7 separate regions of the Homo sapiens genome follow, and regions 1, 2, 3, 4, 5 and 6 are each linked to region 7. Evidence: promoter capture Hi-C in 16 types of primary human blood cells and fetal thymus (Javierre and others, 2016). All regions are on one chromosome and are shown on one strand. Each heading gives the region's core, a stretch centred on a gene start or on the middle of the fragment in contact. The rest is flanking DNA. Distances are from core to core; before and after follow the strand shown.

Region 1 (2,700 bases), core at 201-2,700, 1.9 Mb after region 7:
TGGGATTACAGGCGCCCACCATCATGCGCAGCTAATTTTTGTATTTTTAGTAGAGACGGGGTTTCACCATGTTGGCCAGGCTGGTCTGGAACTCCTGACCTCAGGTGATCCACCCACGTCAGTCTCGCAAAGTGCTGGGATTATAAGTGTGAGCCACCGCAAACGGCCTATAATATTTTAAAATTGTTTTTAAGTGAGAGAAGGGGATATGCTAGGAGGTATGCCAGCTCCAGAAAGCACATTGCCTAGAATACTATGGTAAATAAGTAGATTTTACAGAGAGGACAATGAGAAATTAATGAAAGATTTTAAGCAGATAAATAAAAGTCAGATTTGTGCTCCCCAAACCACAGCTACCTTTAGGGATGACAGCTTAACGTTTAATATAGAATTTAAGAGACAAAGATAGGTTATGTGATTTGCCTAAAGTCACTAAGCGAATAAATGGCAAAACCAGCTGGGCACTGCAGCGCGGGCTATGATCGCTCCATTGCACTCCAGCCTGGACGACAGAGCGAGACCCCATCTCTAAAAACACACACACACACACACACACACACACACACACATTTTTTTTTTTTTTTGAGACAGAGTTTCGCTCGTTGCCCAGGCTGGAGTGCAATGGGGCGATCTCGGCTCACCGCAACCTCCGCCTCCCGGGTTCAAGCGATTCTCCTGCCTCAGTCTCCCGAGTAGCTGGGATTACAGACATGCTCCACCACGCCCAGCTAATTTTGTATTTTTAGTAGAGACGGGGTTTTTCCATGTTGGTCAGGCTGATCTCGAACTTCCGACCTCAGGTGATCCGCCCGCCTCGGCCTCCCAAAGTGCTGGGATCACAGGCCTCAGCCACCGAGCCCGGCCTAAAATAATCATTTTTAAAAATCACAATCATAAATGGCAAAACCAGGTTTTTTGCTAATATGATCGAGGTGAAACATCAAGTTAGAAATCCCCTAATTAGCTTTCCGAGTCCTCTAACCTCGCACACTCTAATCTCACCGTTGGGAAATACATGGGGGTAACAACCCTGCAAACGCCTGAAAATATGGTTATCTTTAGAATTTACGAAGATAAATGTGATTAGGCACATGTGGAAGAAGTTCAAGAGACTGTAAATGAGGGAGGCCAGGTTTCGCGACTATTAAACCAGGTGGCTTTTTCCTTCAGCATCCCCAGGAGAAGTACGAACGCGACTACAACAGCCGGCACAAATGGGATCATGCCTGAAGTACCCATGGGGCACAGTAGAAAGAGCAGCAGGAAGCCGCGGGTAAGGAGAGGGGATGCCTGTGTGCTTACATGTAAAGAGAGAAGTAAGCCACCTACTCACACTCGTACTTCCTATTGACTGGCGGATACTTGGCCTTGATCGCCTTCTGTTCTTCAGTCAAATTGTAATCTCTAACATCTTCCTCTTCCTGCGCCATGACTGCAGGATTAGACACTCTACTTCCGCCCTTCATCCACCGGACTTCGGCCCGGAGTTACTACTTCCGCTCTAGACTCCGCCCCTTGGCGCACACCCTTAAAGGACCACACTCCTTTCTCGGAGTTGGCTGTTGACCTACTTTAGTCCCTACCCTGCCGCTTGGATCGCATATTTAAAAAGCCAAAACCCCATCTTCTGCGATTCCTTCATTACTAGTTCTTTCCAAAGACTAAGGAAAAACGTTGAAGGGCACCTTGAATGAAACCCGTCTGGGTCTGACTGGCGAGGTTCTTTCCCCCGCTTCACCCCCAAAATTGATAACTAGACCCGAAGGCATTCTAGATTTTTCATCTCAGTACTCTGAAAGGGTCGTAAGCTTAATAGCCTTCAAGAAAATGGCTGCCCTCTTGCCGCGGGAGTGTGCGGACCAAACCTCTCTCACGTGACCCTGACCGGGCGCAGTCCCGTCAACGCCGGCGCGCGCAATCGCTGGAAGTCGGCTCGGGGAGGCGTGGGGGGAGGGGCGGAGCGCGCGCCTCGGTCCCCGCGGAAAGCTACTCCGCGCGTCTGGATTGGTCGCGAACGCGGCTTCCCCGCCCATCCCGCCATTAGGAGCGCTCCCATTGGCTGATGTTGGCGCGAAGGTGCGCGAGTCAGCCCTCGCGCTGGGGGCGCAGGAAACAATAGAGGCCGCGCGCACAGAGCGAGCTCTTGCAGCCTCCCCGCCCCTCCCGCAACGCTCGACCCCAGGATTCCCCCGGCTCGCCTGCCCGCCATGGCCGACAAGGAAGGTGAGGGTGCCGGGGCCGACCCAGGAGGGCAGTGGGTGCCTGGGCTGAGCCGCGGCCTCGACATGGCCTAACAGTGAGGGCAGGCCCGAGTTTGCCGAGTGCAGTCCCCGGTACTGAAGGCGTGAAGAGGGAACTCCCCGCGGGGCGTGCTAACGGCTCGCCAGTTCCCTGGGACCGATTTCGGTCGCAGCTGGCGAAGCCAGCGGTGGGGCCCCCGGCCAGTGTTTGTTTCTCTTCCTGCCTCCGATATCGGTTTCTCGGCCTCTGTCCCGAGCGTGGGGACACCGCTTCCTACCCACAAGGCTCGGAGCTCGGGCCTCCTCGTCGGGCTTGTGAGTTTCGGCGCGCACGAGCGTGCTCCGAAGGCCTGGCTGGCCCCTTGGCCTGGAACGGGTAACGGAGTGTTTGGCGGGGATGGCCCGAGGAGTTTCGGCGCCGCGAAAGTGGAGAGTGTGGATGCCTCTGCCGTGGGGATTT
Region 2 (2,700 bases), core at 169-2,668, 1.5 Mb before region 7:
GGCCAGAAATCAAAGAATACTAGAAAGTTTACAGACTTTCAACTATACAAAGGTTAAAGCAGCAACCAGAAAAGTACCATGCAGATGATAAACATCTAAGATGTGATTTAATTTTCATTAACTAAAAACTATTTTTAACATGCAGCCCACTAGGACTCTTCTTCACATTTCTTTGTAATAATTACTACTCCTATTTTTGAAAGTTTTACGATGTATAAAGCATTATGCTAAGTGCTTTACACACATTATATCCATTTAATTTTCACAACTCTGAGGTTTACTGTCATCTGACAGATCAAGAAACTAACTTAGAGGAGTTGAGTAACTTGCCAAGACTATCCCAAAGACCTGGGATTCTTCACACCCAGCTAACCTAAAACCTGCATTCTACCACCACGTTTTAACCGCCTCCTATATACCAATGAAAAGTGGTCCATAAAACCAGAGTTGGAGAAACACAAGCTCTTGCACAGAAAATCAGTTTCATCAAATTATGTGCTGTAGTGTGGAAGACAAATGCCCACAGGAATATAAGCATCTTATGAGAAAGAGTAAGTGGCAAGAAAACACCATTTCTGCATGTGATGTGTGTGTGCTAATACCAGTAAGTTGTGAACATTTATTCTCTACAAGTGGAACCAAACCCATATGCCATCAAAATTTTAATACTAGTCTAGGAAAATAGAAAAAGGTAACAAATCATTAAGAAACTTATATCTCAGCAATGAGAACACAAATATATCAGTGGGAAAATTAAACTCATGATCCTTTCTCATAAAGTAAACCAACTGCTGAAAAAAAATCTCTAATGATGAACTAACCAAACTCAAGCCCATGGTATTGAGTCCACATTGCAGATAACAGCCCATCTCTAACAGAATATATATTCACATAGTAGGGTGAGAAAAACAGAACAATCATTATCCTAAACACCAAACAGTAAAACTAAATCCTCCCAGAATGGGAGGTAGAGAGGAATCTGCATCAAATATGAATTTAGTCTTACTCTGTAACTACTCTATGAGCCTATTTGCCAACTTTGTTTTAGCTATTCAAAACTTTCAAAAATGAACTAAGTCAGCTAAGGTATTTCACTTTTACACTGCAAATAGTTTGTGGATCAAACTATCATTACCCCCTGCAATCATAACTGAACTTTCTTTTTTGATATTTTAAAGTCAACATGGCTTTCCTGAAAGGGAGGGCAGATACAATCATCTGTGTCCATTTCAATTTTCTGACACTTTTCAACACTAAGGATAAATGAAATTGAAAGCTTTCAAAAAAGGGGAATCAACTATTGCCTGATGACAAGAAGTTCGTGAAGACTCAACCACAAATTAAAAACGATTTGAAAAAACTCGAGAGATGAAAGTCACATTACCAATTTAGAATAAAACTCTTGGGATTTAATATAGAATTACTTTATCTGTTATTCCTACTTAAAGAAATAAAGGTTTACACTCTGCAGACAGCACTACCTGATTCCACACAAAAGCTACAAACAAAACCAGTTCATACTTACCTCTTAAACAACACAATGAGCAGGCTGCCAGGTGTTAAAGCTTCATTAAAGATGATGCCTCTTGGATCATCTTGGCTGTATGAGGCACCATGTCCCTCATAATCGCCCCTGGTCCCTGGGCTGGAGTCTGTTTCTTCATTTTCATTTTTGGTTAAAGATGCCACTCCCTATGCTTTTATTAATTAGTGGATGCCACTAATTAAGTATTTTAATGAATTTTTCAAATTCTTTTAAAATGGATGGATCAATAGCTTCATTTCAATTACATGAAAACCTTTCCAAGTCCATGTTTCTGGTCTGTGGTTCCTGACTCCCTTGCCTGAGCCTCCTGCTCTGTCTGCCCTCTTCATTCCTGAAGGCTGAATTCAAACCTCCCTCTTTCAGACTTCCTCTTCTCTCTAGGTCTTGGGGGTCTTTGTTCATGAAGGTCCCCTTTCTGGCATAAAAACCTAAACCCATGGTTGGGGACCTGGGAGAAATAAAGTGCCTTTCAAGCGCTTCTTCAGACATTGCGTGCAGTTCAGAAATCTTTAGCCTGGGAGACTTTCATCTCAACACACAGAAAACTCAAGTAAAACATTTCCTCAAACTATGGGCATACAAATTCAGAGCATAATCTAATCCCTCACCTTCAGGGTACTATAAGACCAGACGGCCCTAGGAATGACAATAAGGCAGAGAACATTTACTTGTACAAATCCTTCCTCAGCCAACCACGATAAAGCTGATACCACCTTACAGCTTTTCAAAGAGTAGCCTGAGGAGGAGAATCACTAGCAGTCTCCAACTAAGGACAACATCATAAAAAATACCATCTGTCTCACTTTTGGCAGTAACTTGTCAGCTTGCTGGAAGCCTCTACAGAGACTAAAGGCTGAACAAGCCCGGAAACCTGAACTACCCTCTCACCCTCAGAGGCAATCCCCAAAGGACAGGACTAAAGGAAATAGCATGAGGGAAGCTTTGAATGTCAATGCCCACATGTATCTAGTATGGGAATTTAAAAAATCTTCTATTTCCGGAGTTGTCAATAACTCATTTTGTAACCTTGGGCCAGTCACCTTATCACCCCATGCCTCAGTTTCCCCATCAGTACAAACTAGGGACAACACTTGTTCATAAAGTACTTTGACATACTCAGTTGAAAAATAAGTCATACAAATGCATTAATATTT
Region 3 (2,700 bases), core at 94-2,593, 1.5 Mb before region 7:
TGCACACACACACACAAAAACAACAAAAAACCACGAAAACAAAAATCCTAGCACTAAGCTTGGTTGTTATATTAACCTATTGTACAGATGGGAAAGAGAGCCCTCCAGAGGGGAAATGCTTGTCCCTAAAACCTGCTCCTCCTTCCCCAATGCAAGTGGCACCACCATCAGCGAGGTGCCAAAGTTCAACCTTCAACCACTGCATTCAGTCTGTCCTTCTGATTATTCCTTCTAAATATTCACAGATTCATTCCTTCTTTCCATTCCTACTTCCTAAACTAGTTCAGGCCTCATCAGACTGTTCACAGTCAGGGCTTTGATATGCGCTACTTCCTCTGCCTGGAATACAGCTGGCTCCTTCTTATTCAGGCCTGAGGCCTTCCATGTCCACCTTATTTCAAGTGTTGTTTGTCATATTTCACAACACTTACTACACAGTCTGTAATTACCTGGTTTATTTATTTACTTGTGCATGGTCTTTCTCCACCACTGGAATGTAAGCTCGCTGGTCTCAGGGGCCATGTTTTTTGTTTCCTGCTCTATCCCTAGCCCCTAACAACAGTGCCTTTCACATAAAGAGCGTTTAAAATACTTATTGAATGAATACATAAATAATCTCTTACCTGGACTACTTCAATGGCCTCCTGATTCTGCCTTTTTCTCATGCCTCCCCATGAGACACAGACTCAGGGAAATTTGAATGCTCTTCCAGTTGACATGTCAAGAACAAAATCAAGGACTCGTGAGAAGAGTGGGACCTCCAAGGCCACCTGTGGAGCCAAAAGAATTGGGACTGTCTGCTGTAGTGACCAGATATGGTCAGGGGATCTGGCTTCTAGTGCCAGCTCTGCTGCCTGCTGTGTGATCTGGAACAACTCACTTCACATCTCTGGGAGGCTGCTGCTTCTGTAAAGTGGTGACATTAACATCTCAATGACATAGGAAATTTCTAAGAATCTCTTTTTTCTCTTTCATAAGGTGCCAATGTCTCCTTTCCACTTACCTTTCAGCTAGCCCTGCTGTCTTCCCAGGAATGTTCCTGCCTTCAGATGCAAGCAGATGTTGTGCCAGGACTGAGCCTTCTCTTCTCCACCATTTCCAGCTGCTGTGGCTTGGCCTAGTGCTTTACTCAGGGCATGGTGCCTGACAATAAGCATGGGGCTGGTGGGTGTTCTGAGAGTTTCCATGCACAAGTACAGCCTGGCACACACAGGTTAACGCAAGAGCTTTTCTCTTTTCTTTTTTGAGACCGAGTCTCACTCTGTTGCCCAGGCTAGAGTGCAGTGGTGAGATCTCGGCTTACTGCAACCTCCGCCTCCGGGTTCAAGCGATTCTCGTGCCTCAGCCTCCCGAGTAGCTGGGACTACAGGCATGAGCCACCATGCCTGGGTAATTTTTTTTGTATTTTTAGTAGAGACTGTGTTTCACTATGTTGGCTGGTCTCGAACTCCTGACCTCAGGTGATCTGCACACCTCAGCCTCCCCAAGTGCTGGGTTACGGGCGTGAGCCACCATGCCTGGCCGCAAGAGCTTTATTCTTCTCGGCCTCAGTCTTCCCCTGAGGAAAGTGTGCGTAATTATCTCATATCCCAAGAAAACACATTTATCAAATTTTTTTTCCTTTTTTTGTTGAGACAGAGTCTCACTCTGTCACCCAGGCTGGAGTGCAGTGGTGCGATCTCAGCTCACTGCAACCTCTGCTTCCTGGGTTCAAGCGATTCTCCTGCCTCAGCCTCCCAAGTAGCTGGAACTAAAGATGCACGCCACAGGCCAGGCGAGGTGGCTCACGCCTGTAATCCCAGCACTTTGGGAGGCCCAGGTGGGTGGATCATGAGGTCAGGAGATCGAGACCATCCTGGCTAACATGGTGAAACCCCATCTCTACTAAAAATACAAAAAAATTAGCCAGGCGTGGTGGTGGGCGCCTGTAGTCCCAGCTACTCGGGAGGTTGAGGCAGGAGAATGGCGTGAACCCAGGAGGCGGAGCTTGCAGTGAGCTGAGATTGTGCCACTGCACTCCAGCCTGGGCAACACAGCAAGACTCTGTCTCAAAAAAAAAAAAAAAAAAAAGACGCACACCACCATGCCTGGCTAATTTTTGTATTTTTAGTAGAGATGGGGTTTCACCATGTTGGCCAGGCTAGCCTCGAACTCCTGGAGAGACCAGATCTTGAGGGGCCTCAAGGATCATGGGAAGGATTTGGAGTTTACTTTTTTTTTTGAAATGGAGTCTCACTCTGTTGCCCAGGCTGGAATGCAGTGGTGCAATTTTGGCTCACTGCAACCTCCACCTCCTGGGTTCAAGCAATTCTCCTACCTCAGCATCCCAACGAGCTGGGATTACAGGTGCCTGCCACCACGCCCGGCTAATTTTGTATTTTTAGTACAAATTAATTTAGTAGAGACAGGATTTCTCCATGTTGCTCAGGCTGGTCTCGAACTCCTGACCTGAGGCTATCTGCCTGCCTTGGCCTCCCAAAGTGTTAGGATTAAAGGCATGAACCACTGCGCCTGGCCTCCATTTACCAATATTGTGGCAGCAACTATAGGTAGTCACTGGGTGGATGGTCCCAGAAGAGGACAGGGAGAGATGGCAGAGTCAGGAAGCTGCAGGGCTTCAGGTGCGCTCAAGCTTTTTTTTAGCAGGTAATGCCTATTTGTCTTTTTTTTTTGAGACAGTTTCACTCTTGTTGCCCAGGA
Region 4 (2,700 bases), core at 176-2,675, 1.5 Mb before region 7:
CCTATTGAAATCCTGTAGATCCTTTGAAGCGCAGCTCAAGTGCAGCCTTCATGAAGCCTTCCTGGATTGTTCCCTCTATGTGCTCCCACAGTGCTCTGTGGGCATCTGTATTAATGCACATACCACGGTCTGCCCCATCTTACACTTCATTGTATATAGGTCCATTTCTATCAACAGCTTGCAGCTTCTTGAGAGGGAAGGGTCATGCCCTATTCCTCTCTGCAGTGTTTAATAAAGGTGCACTGCCTTGAAATGGGATTACAGCTGCGCTGGAGAAACTGGCAGCCCCTGAAACAGGGTCCTACAGTTCTGTGGCAAAGCCCAGGTTTAGCTTTGGACCTGGCCATTGGGGAAGGCGGTGTGACATGCTGGGAAAAATGTGGGCTCTGGAATGAGACAGATCTGGGCATGAGTCTCAGTTTCACCAATGATTGTAACTAAACAGACAGGGCAAGTCATGACCTCTGTGAACTTCAGTTTCCTTCCCTTAAAATATAATCCCAGCTACTAGGGAGGCTGAGGCAGGAGAATCGCTTGAACCCGGGAGGTGGAGGTTGCAGTGAGCTGAGATCGCGCCACTGTACTCCAGCCTGGGTGACAGAGCGAGACTCCCTCTATTAAAAAAAAAAAGTGCCCCCGATTAGAGTCAAATGCATCGTGTCCGGGAAAGTGCTTTGTTGAATTTGAAATGCTATCTGGTTTTTGAGAGGCAGCAGGGATCTGTCACACAACGGGCTGAAACTAGAGATAGAGGACTTCCTGGAAGAAGAATGCCCACTCGTCTTCACCAGGGGTCAACGTACAGGTTGTCACCCACCAGTGGATTATGAATCAATCTAGTTGGTTGCAAGCACCTTTTTTTTTTAAAGTTAAAATTGAGAAGAGAATAAAAAATAACAGAGTATGTCACACATAGTAAGGGTATTTCACGAAACTTTGGTTTCCATTATATATATATTCCTATTTGTATAAACTGATCACAATATAAAATGTAATTCTTACCATGTGTCAAGATCCTAAGTTTATTCAACAGTGATCTAGTTCAGGCCATATCAGCCTTGAGGCAGGAAAGTGGAGAGGTGTGCAGTGGGTACTTAGGGTGGGCAGCGTCGAAATGCCTAGATCTGTTACTACAGCTGCAGCCTAAATGGGAGGTGGCTTTAGGGCATGGGATGCAAGCAAACAAAGTGTCTGCTGCACTAGGACTCCAGCAAAGGTCCCTGGTCACAGCCACTGGCTTTCTCCACCAAAGGCTCCCAGGAACCATCTGCCATAGTTGCAAGAAACCTATATTTCTCTTGTGGGAACTGGCATCGGCTTTCAGCCAGGCCTTGGACAGTGGCTGGGCACCATGTTTCATCACACTCCAACAACTGTGGGCCTCAGTTTCTTCGCTGGTATGAGAGGTGGCTTGGGTGAGTTCTACAGCCACTGCGGCTCACGGATGTGCATGGATGTGCATGGTGTGCAGAGGCAGCCCAGGAGGTTAATGCCCTTAGGGCGACCCTTAAACAATGGGGTGTGAGAATTAGTGGAAAACTGGCCCAGCCTCTCATCATTCAAGGGTTAGTTTTTGTTTTGTTTTGTTTTGTTTTGTTTTTGAGATGGTGTCTTGCTCTGTTGCCCAGGCTGGAGTGCGGTGGTGCAATCTTGGCTCACTGCAACTTCCGCCTCCCGGGTTCAAGCGATTCTCCTGCCTCAGCCTCCTGAGTAGCTGGGGTCACAGGCGCTGCCACCACGCCGGGCTAATTTTTGTATTTTTAGTAGAGACGGGTTTTCACCATGTTGGCCAGGCTGGTCTCAAACCCCTGACCTCAAGTGATCTGCCAGCTTCAGCCTCCCAAAGTGCTGGGATTACAGGCATGAGACACCATGCCTGGCCTTAAGGGTTAATTCTGCAGTGGGTTCTGAGAGTCTTCAGAGGGCCCCAGCAAGACTGAGCAGGCCGGCTGGGGGTGGGTGGCTCGCGCCTGTAATCCCAGCACTTTGGGAGGCTGAGGTGGGCGGATCACAAGGTCAGGAGTTAGAGACCAGCCTGGCCAATATGGTGAAACCCCATTTCTACTAAAAATACAAAAATTAGCCAGGCATGGTGGCAGGCACCTGTAGTCTCAGCTACCTGGGAGGCTGAGGCAGGAGAATCCCTTGAACCCGAGAGGTGGAGGTTGCAGTGAGCCCACGCCACTGCACTCAAGCCGGGGCGACAGAGCACGACTGTCTCAAAAAAACAGCCGGAGCAGTAGTTGCCCGCAGCAGTAACCGGGCTTCATGGGCTTTGCCTCCATCTCTGTCTCACTCTCCCCACTCCCCTTCATTTCTTCTTCCCAAACAAACTCTCTGCACCCAGTGCTGGTCTTAGGCTCTGCTTTCAGAGAAACCCAAATAAAAACACTTGGCTCTGTCATTTACTCCCTGGCTGATCTCATGCAAATAGTTTACCTTTCTGGACCTCAGTTTTCCCATTTATGAAAGGGAAGAAGAATATAAGCAGCGGACAGTCTCTGCACTGTATGCCCAGCACTGTGTGAAGTATTATGCTGTAGTGTTTCACCCTCCACGTTCTTTATTCTCCATTTTACAGAAGAAAAATCTGATGATTTGAGAGGCAAATTCACAGTCAGGGAAAGGTGAAGCCTGGGGTCAGACCCAGGTTATCTGCCCAGAGCTTGAGCTCTTAACCAATGATGGTACCAACCTTAC
Region 5 (2,760 bases), core at 254-2,753, 2.0 Mb before region 7:
GATTACAAACATGAGCCACCGCGCCCGCCGTAGCCGAGTATCTTTAAAAAGAAGTATTACTAGGTTTATTCTATTCCCTTGATGGAATCTATGCTCCCAGACTTGACATTTTACTGTCTCCATTAAAAGTCCTTCACCTTTGGTGCCTGACCTTACTCATTCCTACCATAAATGTGATTATGGGCAGAGAAAAAAAGTGCTTTGAGCACTTTGACCAAATTATGATGTTAAATCCAAGATGCCATGTTATTTATTTTACCGAGTCCACCCAAGCCTCCTATATCCAGCGTGTGGATAGTACGAGGTTGACAATTAGTGCATTAGTTACCTGTTTACCACGACGTACTTGCAATAACAAAAGCTATTAGATGGGCTTTCCTAGTATCAAATATTCCTGCATGAGTTGGCTTTGCTTCTGATTGAAAATACTTTTGCCCATCCTTTGCATCTCCCCTATATTCTGGTTCCCTAATACAGAGTCTCGTAGGGGTAGAGAGATACCATTATGTTAGTGTCAGATACACCTGGCTATTTAATAGTTTTGTAAACTTGGGCACATTACTTAAGCTTTCTGTTTTTCCAGTCGTAAAAAACCGAAAGACTGATAGCGATTTTGAAGTTGTCGAAAGACTTTAATGTGTTTGAAAATACCTAACAACAAAGCCTGGCCCACAGCTGGTATTTCAATAATGTTAATTTCCTTGCTTCCCTCTTGAGGTCCTTAAGATTCATAGGTTCTCCGGACTCCTTGAAAGTTTTGTGTAGATGCATGAGGTGTATTTTTCTTGGAAATAAAGTCCACAATTTAACAGATTATCTTGGGGCCAGCGATTTCCCCGAAAATAAATTGTAGATTCTCCTTCCTGCAATGCTAAGGGGTGAATCTCTTTTGCGGGAGACTGGATTCTTTCGGTGTGTGTTTTGCTCTCTGGGTACTCTTTCTGTAGTCGGCTAACAGAGGATGACCAAGCCCCTCGCGGGGGCGGGGGCGGGTCACTCCCGGACAGGGCCCCCATGAAGTTTCCCTGGGGACTGTGTGACTCCCTAGGGGTCGGGTTACCTCCCAGATGGGGGTGGGGTATCACTTGCAGCTGGAAGGCAGGTTCATTTTAAGGTCTCGCGGGCTTCGGAGGCCCCTCCCTCACTGAGAAACCGGCTTTTGTCGTTCTTCTGAAGCCAGAGCTAGTCTTTCCAGGTGTTAGTCGAAACCTCGTGGTGCGACCCTGGTCGTCCCAAACCCCCTAGGCCTTAATCCTGGGGCGGTGGGGGCGGGGAGGCCGTGAGCACGGCTTCCGCTCCTCCAATCCGCCAGAGGGCGCAGCGGCCGGCCTCTCCCTTCCCGGGGTTCTTCGCGCCGGGCCCCTTCCGCGTGGGTGAGTGAATGTGAGAGTCAGCGCTCGCGCCGCGCGCGCCGCCCGCCTCCGCTGTTCGGCGCTCTGCTTTAGGCGGTGGGGGGCGGGCGCGCGCGTAAAAGCATAGAGACGGGCATTGAGCTCTTGGGCTAGAGCGTCGCCGAGTCGGAGCCGGAGCCTGAGCCGCGCGCTGTGTCTCCGCTGCGTCCGCCGAGGCCCCCGAGTGTCAGGGACAAAAGCCTCCGCCTGCTCCCGCAGACGGGGCTCATCTGCCGCCGCCGCCGCGCTGAGGAGAGTTCGCCGCCGTCGCCGCCCGTGAGGATCTGAGAGCCATGTCGGCCAGCAGCCTCTTGGAGCAGGTACAGGCCCGGCCCGCATGCCTCGGCCATTGTGTGAGGCGAGAAGGAGCCCGACTAGGCCCGGGCCCGCCGCTCCTGGGCAGGCCGAGCCGAGCCGAGGCGTCGTCTCTTGCGGGCCAGGTTTCGGGCCTCTCAGGCCGGCCGCGCCCGGCGCCTCTCCCTCAGCCTGTTCTTCCCGCTTCTCCTCGGGCCTCGGAGCCCACGGGCCGGGCCGCGCCGCGTTCCCTTCTCTCGGCGGGCCTCGTTTTCCTTCCTTGTTTCCTTCCCCTTCCTTAAAGCCCTGGGTTCCTCGCGTCGCCGGTGGCGCGTCTGCCGCGTTTTCTCCCCTGCCCCACGGGCCTGGCGCTTTCCCCCGCCTCCCATTTTCAGCCTCTTCCTCACTACCATTCCTGACGCCTCCCCTCGGGCCTGCTCCTTTATTCTCCCTTCGGGCCCTGCCTTAATTTGTTCTTCCTTTTCCATTTCTCCTTTGGACAACTTGCTGCTCGGCGACGTTTCCTTCCCCTGCAGAGACCAAAAGGTCAAGGAAACAAAGGTAAGTCCCGCTCCGCCGGTGGCCCTGAGCCGGGAGGGGGACGCGGGGCGGTGGGGGCGGGGTCTCCGGGAAGCGCCCCGGGCGGAGGACCTTTCGGAAGCCGCTTAGTTCGCAGGTGCCGCACACTTAAGTATTTTGACCCTTTCGGTGTGTTCTTGCAGCTGGCGAACAGCTTTTTCGCTAACAAGGAGTAATTCATTAAGGGTGGGGGTGGATTGGGTTTTGAAACGCTCCAGGTCCTTAGTTTCCTGTAGGTCTTAGAAGGCCTTTGTTTTTCATCCTCGTGGATCACTCTCTGGAAGTACTCTCATGTGATGGGGGAGGGGAAGCGGGAGGGAATGGAAATCCAGAGGAGCCAATAAAATGACCTTTTTAGATCAACTTGCTCTGGGTGGAGGGGGACATTTTCACTGGCGACTGTCGCTTCAGCATTCACTGTCATCTCTTACCCTTTTGAAGTTCAATCTTACGTGCTTTGTTAACTAGTAAGGTTTTTCTCTGGTTAGCATATATG
Region 6 (2,743 bases), core at 200-2,699, 1.5 Mb before region 7:
CTATACGTGGGAGATGCCCACTAAGTGGCTGCATCTCGATGCCTCTGGGTGCACAGGGAAGGCTTGGAGGGGTGAATGCAGGAGCTGGGGTTCTGCAGCACAGTCATGGGTGGGCTGGCTATGCCTCCTCCTCTGGCTCTGGGTTGGGGGCTGCCATTTCCTGCAGAATGACTGTGGGAGGACCCCTGAGGGGGACAGCTCAGAAGATGCTGCTTCCAGATGACGCAGGAGGTCTTGGGCAGATTCCCAAGATGCAAACCACAAGACCTTGTGATGACTCAGAAGGGACAAGGAGAAAGGGGGCTTGGAGGGCCGCTGAGGCTTGGGAGTTTGAGGGCAGAAGCTGGGGAGAAAGATTGAGATGGGGCTGTTAGGAAGGGGAGATGCTGAGGATATTTGACAGGGCAAGATTAAAGCTAGGGGTGGGGTGACAGCTCAGCCCCCGGGGGCTCCCAGACTAGTGGAAAAAGGAGACGGAAAACCGCAGCACACTGTCAGATGTCCACTGTGGTGGGTGACAGCTGAGGCCTGGGGGACCACTGGCGGATAGAAGATAGCTGGTGGGAAAGATATACCTGGGGGATGGGACAGCTGACAGTGAAGGGACAGGCGGTATTGGGGGAACAACTGAGGGTTGGGGGACAGGTGGATGATAGAACAAGGAGATGTGGGTGATAAGATAAGAGGTGGAGATAAGAGGTGACAACTGGGAGCTATCAGAAACCTAGTGGATAGGACAGGTGAGTCTCAGCTGAGAGTGGGAAATACATTGCTTAGAATGTGTATGTATGTGTGTTTACAGGAGCGTGCATGTGGACTTGTGGCTGGGCATGCCTGTCAATATGTGTTTGTCTAGCGTGTGGTGGTTAAGAGCATGGGTTCAGGGCCCAGACCATCTGGGTTCTAATCCTAAGCCCACCACTTCTAGCTGTGTGATACTTTGGTAAGTTACTGACCTCTCTGGGCCCTTAGAGTTCTCATTTGTGGAATGGGGATAATAATAGGACACACTGCATGCGTTTGTCATGAGGATATGTTTTATGGTTATGATTATGTAGGTTAGAACAGGTCCTGCACATAGTAAGCACTGTGTAAGTGATCACTGTTATGATGTGTGTATTTGCATGCGTGCGGTCATCCTGTGTGCCCAGAAAAGTTTGTTCTTGGTTTCTGATGAAGTCCAGGCCTGGGAGGGAGTAATAGTGGTGGGGACGGGGGTGGTGGTTGGGGAGTGCCTAGCCAGGTTGATTGAGTCTGGCTCTTCTCTGACATCCTAACCTCTTGTTCATCCTACTTCCTGCTCACCCTGTCCCAGGGCCTTATCCAATAATAGGTCTTTCTCTCTATCTCTCCTCTGTCCTGCCCTGGGCTGGGGGCCAGGGGCTGTACTTTAATTGTCTGAGAGCTTTACCAGCAGAATTTGAATTCATTGTTTTCCTGCCAGCATGCTGGGATTCTGCTCAGTTATAATACCTGGACAATGTGCTCGATTCTAGATGGCCTATCCTGTGGGTGGCAGTGGCTTCAGCCTTTGCCCTTGGAGAGTCACTGGGGTGGAAGATGTTGGAGGGAGGGAGACAAGCCAGATGAGATTTCGGCCCCCAACTTGTGGGGTGAGCCAGCGTGGCCGGGCAGAGCTGTAGGTAGAGAGTTTTCCAGGGATCTGAGCTCCCCTCTCCTCCAGTGCATCACAGGGAGGCATCATGACCCTCCCAGCAACACTGTTGCAGCGTGCCAGGCTCTGGACTGCTCTGGATGTGCACTGTCTGGGATTCCTGGGTCCAGCCTCCTTGCACAGCCCTGTGTCTCAGCCCTCTACTTCACTGGGATTGCTGCATTGCATTGAGGGTGTGCGTTCTCCTGAGTTTCTGCATGCTCTGCCTCTGCATTGTCCCATTGGACCGTGCCTCCATCCTGCCATGATCCTGCCATGGTCCTGCCATGTGTGTGTCTTTGCTGCTCTCTTGTATACTGTGTCACTCTGCTGGATGTCAGTGTTGCATTGGGAAGGTGAATTCTCCTGGGTTTCTGGGCGGAGCTGCTCACACTGCACCACTGTCTGAGATCAACACATGGTTTTCTGTGGCCACATTGCATGTTTGTGTCATAGAGCATTTATATTCTGCACCCCATTGCCTCACCAGGCAGTCTACATTGCATTGGGCACATGGACTCTTTTGGGGTTTGGGCATAGCTCCTCGCATTGCAGCACTGCACCGTGCCAACAGATGGCATGCTACCACAACATTGCATCTTGGCATCACACAGCATCTCTGTACTGCACTGCACTATTGCATGGACGTCAGTATTGCATCAGGACTGTGAACTTTTCCTGAGTTTCTGGGCATGGCCCCTCTGCATTCCACAGTTGCATTGTACCAACAGTGCACTTTGCCCCATATAGCACTTCTGTGCATGTGCACTGCTTTGCTGCACTGGATATGTGCCTCATGGCCCAGCCCTTGCACTGCACCACTGCTGCTGAAACGCTGCCCCTATGGTGTCCTGGCCTTTCACGCTCCTACCACCATGGTATCTGTAGGCTGGCGTCCTTTTCCAGGTTTTTGTTGTCAGCCCTACGTGAACAACATCTTTGCATTGAGTGTCCTCACTGCCCCACGTTGCACATGACTCAGGGAGTCTATATCTATAGTACAGCTTGGGACCACTTTCTTGGGCTTCAGGACTGGCTTAGGTTTGCAAAGGCAGCACCACTGCACAGTATCTGACATTGCATTCGTGC
Region 7 (2,700 bases), core at 162-2,661:
CCCTAACCCTGATCCTGTCCTACTGGACACCCTGCCCCTGCGGGTCACATCCCAAAGACCCACACACACACCTCCCCTCCGAGAAGGGCTCTGAACCTTCTCCTGCCAGTGCCCAGGCCTCTCAGACTCTCCCGCATCACAGAAAACTCTGGCACCCAAAACTCACGACACAGAAACATGTGTAGGTTTTCTGGGAGCTCTCCTTCCTGAGCTCTGGGCCCTCCTTGGTCCCTGCCAGGATTCTGCCACATAAAAGGGCTCTGTTGTTTTTTGTGTGTGCGGTTTTTTTTTTTGTTTTGTTTTTTTTTTGAGACGGAGTCGTCTCGCTCTGTCGCCCAGGCTGGAGTGCAGTGGCACGATCTCGGCTCACTGCAAGCTCCGCTTCCCGGGTTCACGCCGTTTTCCTGGCGCAGCCTCCCGAGTAGCTGGGACTACAGGCGCCCGCAACAACGCCCGGCTAATTTTTTGTATTTTTAGTAGAGACCGGTTTCACCATGTTGGCCAGGATGGTCTCGATCTCCTGACTTCGTGATCCGCCCGCCTCGGCCTCTCAAAGTGCTGGGATTACAGGCGTGAGCCACCGCGCCCGGCCATAAAAGGACTCTTAACATCGCCTCTCCCCAACTCCCTTAACCTGGGGCTGGAGACCCTCCTCCGTTATCAGGCTCCGCCCCAGCTACGGCCCCACCCCTGGTGCTGGCACCACCTCAGTCTAATCCAGGTTCCACCCCCAATCCACCTAAGCCGTGTCCCTAGCCCTGGCCCCGCCCTGATGTTGCCGTGTAACTCAGTTCCCGCCGTTTTATAGGCTACCGCCCCAGCCAGGCCCCGCCCTCTGATGTGGCCCCGCCCCCCGACGCTGACTTTTTCTGTCTTCACTTTAGCGCTGGCTCCGCCCCTAGCCTTGGCCCGCCTCAGCGCGGACTCTCAGTCTCTGCGCCTGCCACGGCCTCGTCCCGCTCAGCCCTGGCCCTGCCCCTGGAGCCGACTCTCTCCGCCTCCGCCCCGGTCCCGCCCTGGCACTGACTGTCTCCGTCTTCGCCCCTGCCCTGGCCCCGCCCCCTGCCTGCTCTGGCCCCGCCCCGCCGCTCTCTCCGTCTCCGCCCCTGCCCTGGCCCCACCCTTGCCCCGCCCCGGCGCTGACTCTCTCCGTCTCCGCCTCCGCCCCCGGCTCCTCCCCGGCCCCGCCCCGGCACTGACATTCTATCTCTCTCCCGTCTCCGCCTCTGCCCCCCCCCCGGCCCCGCCCCTGCCCTGCGCCGGCGCTGGCTCCGTCTGCGCCTCAGCCTCGGTCCCGCCTCCAGCCCTGGCCCCGCCCCGCCGCTCTCCCCTTCTCCGCCCCTGCCCTGGCTCCGCCCCCGCCTGCCCGCGCACCGCAGAAGGCCTCCTGGAACTTCCTGGACAGCTTCTCGATGACGCTGTAGCTCTCCACGTAATCGACGTGTTCGTCCTGCGGCTCGCTGGCGATCTGCCGCAGCGTGGCCTTGTCCACGCTGCCCACTCCGATGGCGAACAGCTCGACGCCGCTGGCCCGGGCCCGCGCAGACACGTCCTGCACGCTGTCCTGGGGCCTCCCGTCTGTCACCACGATGACCACCTGCGACACGCGGGGCGGTGTGACACCGGGCTCCCGGAAGCCCACGGGACTGTCCAGGAGAGGAGGCTGAGGCCCGGAGAGGCGGGAGGACTGCCGGGTCGCACAGCCAGGCGGCACCCGGGGGAAGAGGACCCGGCTGGCCGAAGAGGAGACCCGTTTCCTCTGACTGAGAGACGTGGCTGGGGGGCTTTCCATCTGCTTCGCCTCCCTCGGGCAGGCAGCTCTGAGATGCCCGGAGGGATGTGATGCCCCATCGCCAAATTGGGGTCTCTAAGGTCAGGGCCATGCCTTCCCCTCAGACTGAGGCGGCTGAGGGCAGGGTCCTCAGGCTGATGGCTGTGGGAGTCGTGCCACGCCCCTCGTGCCCCCGGGAGGCCCGGCCGGGGCTGGGTGGGGGGATCCGGTGGTTCCACATGGTGCAGTTCTGCGCTTTGGCCACCAGATGGCAGCCGAAGCTAAGGGATGGGGCTGCCGTCTCCCGTCTTGCTGTCCTTGTCCCGGTAAGACCGGGGACCCTGGACCAGGGAACCGACGGAGGGCCACTCCCATGTGGATGCCCAAGGGACCAACCCAAGAAAGATGCCGCCCTTATCCTCCTCCACTCCCCGGTATGATACATGCCCCTGCCAGAGAGGGAAAGAATCTGCCTGCTCCCCTCCCACTAGGCTCCTCTGGTCTGTACCCTGGAAAGAAAGAGGTGGCGGACTCTGTCACTGAGATCCGGCTTCGTGACCCCCTGTCTGCACCCGCCCTGAGGCTAGGGCGCTCCCAGCTCTGCCCAGTCTGGGTTAGGCATCCAGTCCCGCTTTGCTGCTTCTCTGCTTCTGACTTGGGTCTGTTTCTGATTCCTGGGTCCCATCCTTAGCCCCAGGTCCTGACACCCTGTCCTGATGACAGGCAGTTGAGACAGGCCGTGTTTAGAAATGCAGCTCCACAAGCTACAGGTCACCTTCCTGAGCCTCAGTGTCTTCAACTGTAAAAAGGGTTGTGGTGAGGTTGAGTGAGATGACTCCTGGTTAGAAGCCAGAAGGGGCAACTATTATTTTTACCATCATTACCCTGGGCTACCTGGGGAGTGACTTTGTACAATCTCTTCCTCTCCA

Evidence for each region. Contacts are between HindIII fragments. The CHiCAGO score rates a contact against its expected background, and 5 or more counts as called.
Region 1: the fragment with the promoter of ZBTB8OS here is called in contact with the fragment with the promoter of MATN1-AS1 in region 7 in 1 of 17 cell types (naive CD4 T cells); the score reaches 5.3 in naive CD4 T cells.
Region 2: a contact is called between a fragment that was not itself captured here and the fragment with the promoter of MATN1-AS1 in region 7, in 2 of 17 cell types (naive CD4 T cells and total B cells). The highest score is 6.7, in naive CD4 T cells.
Region 3: a fragment that was not itself captured here is called in contact with the fragment with the promoter of MATN1-AS1 in region 7 in 10 of 17 cell types (total B cells, activated CD4 T cells, naive CD8 T cells and 7 more); the score reaches 14.4 in total B cells.
Region 4: a contact is called between a fragment that was not itself captured here and the fragment with the promoter of MATN1-AS1 in region 7, in 5 of 17 cell types (activated CD4 T cells, naive B cells, total CD4 T cells and 2 more). The highest score is 10.9, in activated CD4 T cells.
Region 5: the fragment with the promoter of YTHDF2 here is called in contact with the fragment with the promoter of MATN1-AS1 in region 7 in 2 of 17 cell types (M0 macrophages and M2 macrophages); the score reaches 5.9 in M0 macrophages.
Region 6: a fragment that was not itself captured here is called in contact with the fragment with the promoter of MATN1-AS1 in region 7 in 17 of 17 cell types (naive CD8 T cells, naive B cells, megakaryocytes and 14 more); the score reaches 36.8 in naive CD8 T cells.

Annotation. Positions count from the first base shown.
Region 1 is chr1:32,649,100-32,651,799 of GRCh38, forward strand. It overlaps ZBTB8OS (zinc finger and BTB domain containing 8 opposite strand), which reads right to left and starts at 1,451. Exons shown (of 7, transcript NM_178547.5): 1 at 1,334-1,451. The coding sequence starts at 1,430. RBBP4 (RB binding protein 4, chromatin remodeling factor) reads left to right here and starts at 2,109. Exons shown (of 12, transcript NM_005610.3): 1 at 2,109-2,223. The coding sequence starts at 2,208. RefSeq lists enhancers at 48-187, 1,321-1,908, 1,909-2,497, 2,658-2,700 and a silencer at 1,788-2,357. The HindIII fragment of the contact is 3,350 bases long and covers 1-1,806 here.
Region 2 is chr1:29,168,898-29,171,597 of GRCh38, forward strand. All of the region lies in intron 1 of SRSF4 (serine and arginine rich splicing factor 4), which reads right to left. It also overlaps a transcript of MECR not described here. Among named protein-coding and RNA genes, the nearest start is that of SRSF4, 12 kb to the right of the region's middle. The HindIII fragment of the contact is 289 bases long and covers 1,275-1,563 here.
Region 3 is chr1:29,185,987-29,188,686 of GRCh38, forward strand. It overlaps a transcript of MECR not described here. Among named protein-coding and RNA genes, the nearest start is that of SRSF4, 5.4 kb to the left of the region's middle. RefSeq lists enhancers at 627-1,272, 1,273-1,917. The HindIII fragment of the contact is 2,574 bases long and covers 57-2,630 here.
Region 4 is chr1:29,203,602-29,206,301 of GRCh38, forward strand. The region is part of intron 4 of MECR (mitochondrial trans-2-enoyl-CoA reductase); the gene reads right to left. Among named protein-coding and RNA genes, the nearest start is that of SRSF4, 23 kb to the left of the region's middle. The HindIII fragment of the contact is 6,958 bases long and covers 1-2,700 here.
Region 5 is chr1:28,735,437-28,738,196 of GRCh38, forward strand. It overlaps YTHDF2 (YTH N6-methyladenosine RNA binding protein F2), which reads left to right and starts at 1,504. Exons shown (of 5, transcript NM_016258.3): 1 at 1,504-1,711; 2 at 2,222-2,246. The coding sequence starts at 1,685. RefSeq lists enhancers at 1-320, 851-900, 1,220-2,118, 2,001-2,110. The HindIII fragment of the contact is 4,406 bases long and covers 566-2,760 here.
Region 6 is chr1:29,243,749-29,246,491 of GRCh38, forward strand. All of the region lies in intron 1 of PTPRU (protein tyrosine phosphatase receptor type U), which reads left to right. Among named protein-coding and RNA genes, the nearest start is that of PTPRU, 8.6 kb to the left of the region's middle. RefSeq lists enhancers at 1-86, 87-587, 1,173-1,674. The HindIII fragment of the contact is 3,912 bases long and covers 1-2,743 here.
Region 7 is chr1:30,717,361-30,720,060 of GRCh38, forward strand. It overlaps MATN1-AS1 (MATN1 antisense RNA 1), which reads left to right and starts at 1,412. Exons shown (of 4, transcript NR_034182.1): 1 at 1,412-2,205. MATN1 (matrilin 1) reads right to left here. Exons shown (of 8, transcript NM_002379.3): 3 at 1,375-1,597. RefSeq lists silencers at 635-814, 855-1,374, 1,935-2,024 and enhancers at 1,435-1,604, 1,702-2,277. The HindIII fragment of the contact is 4,958 bases long and covers 1-2,700 here.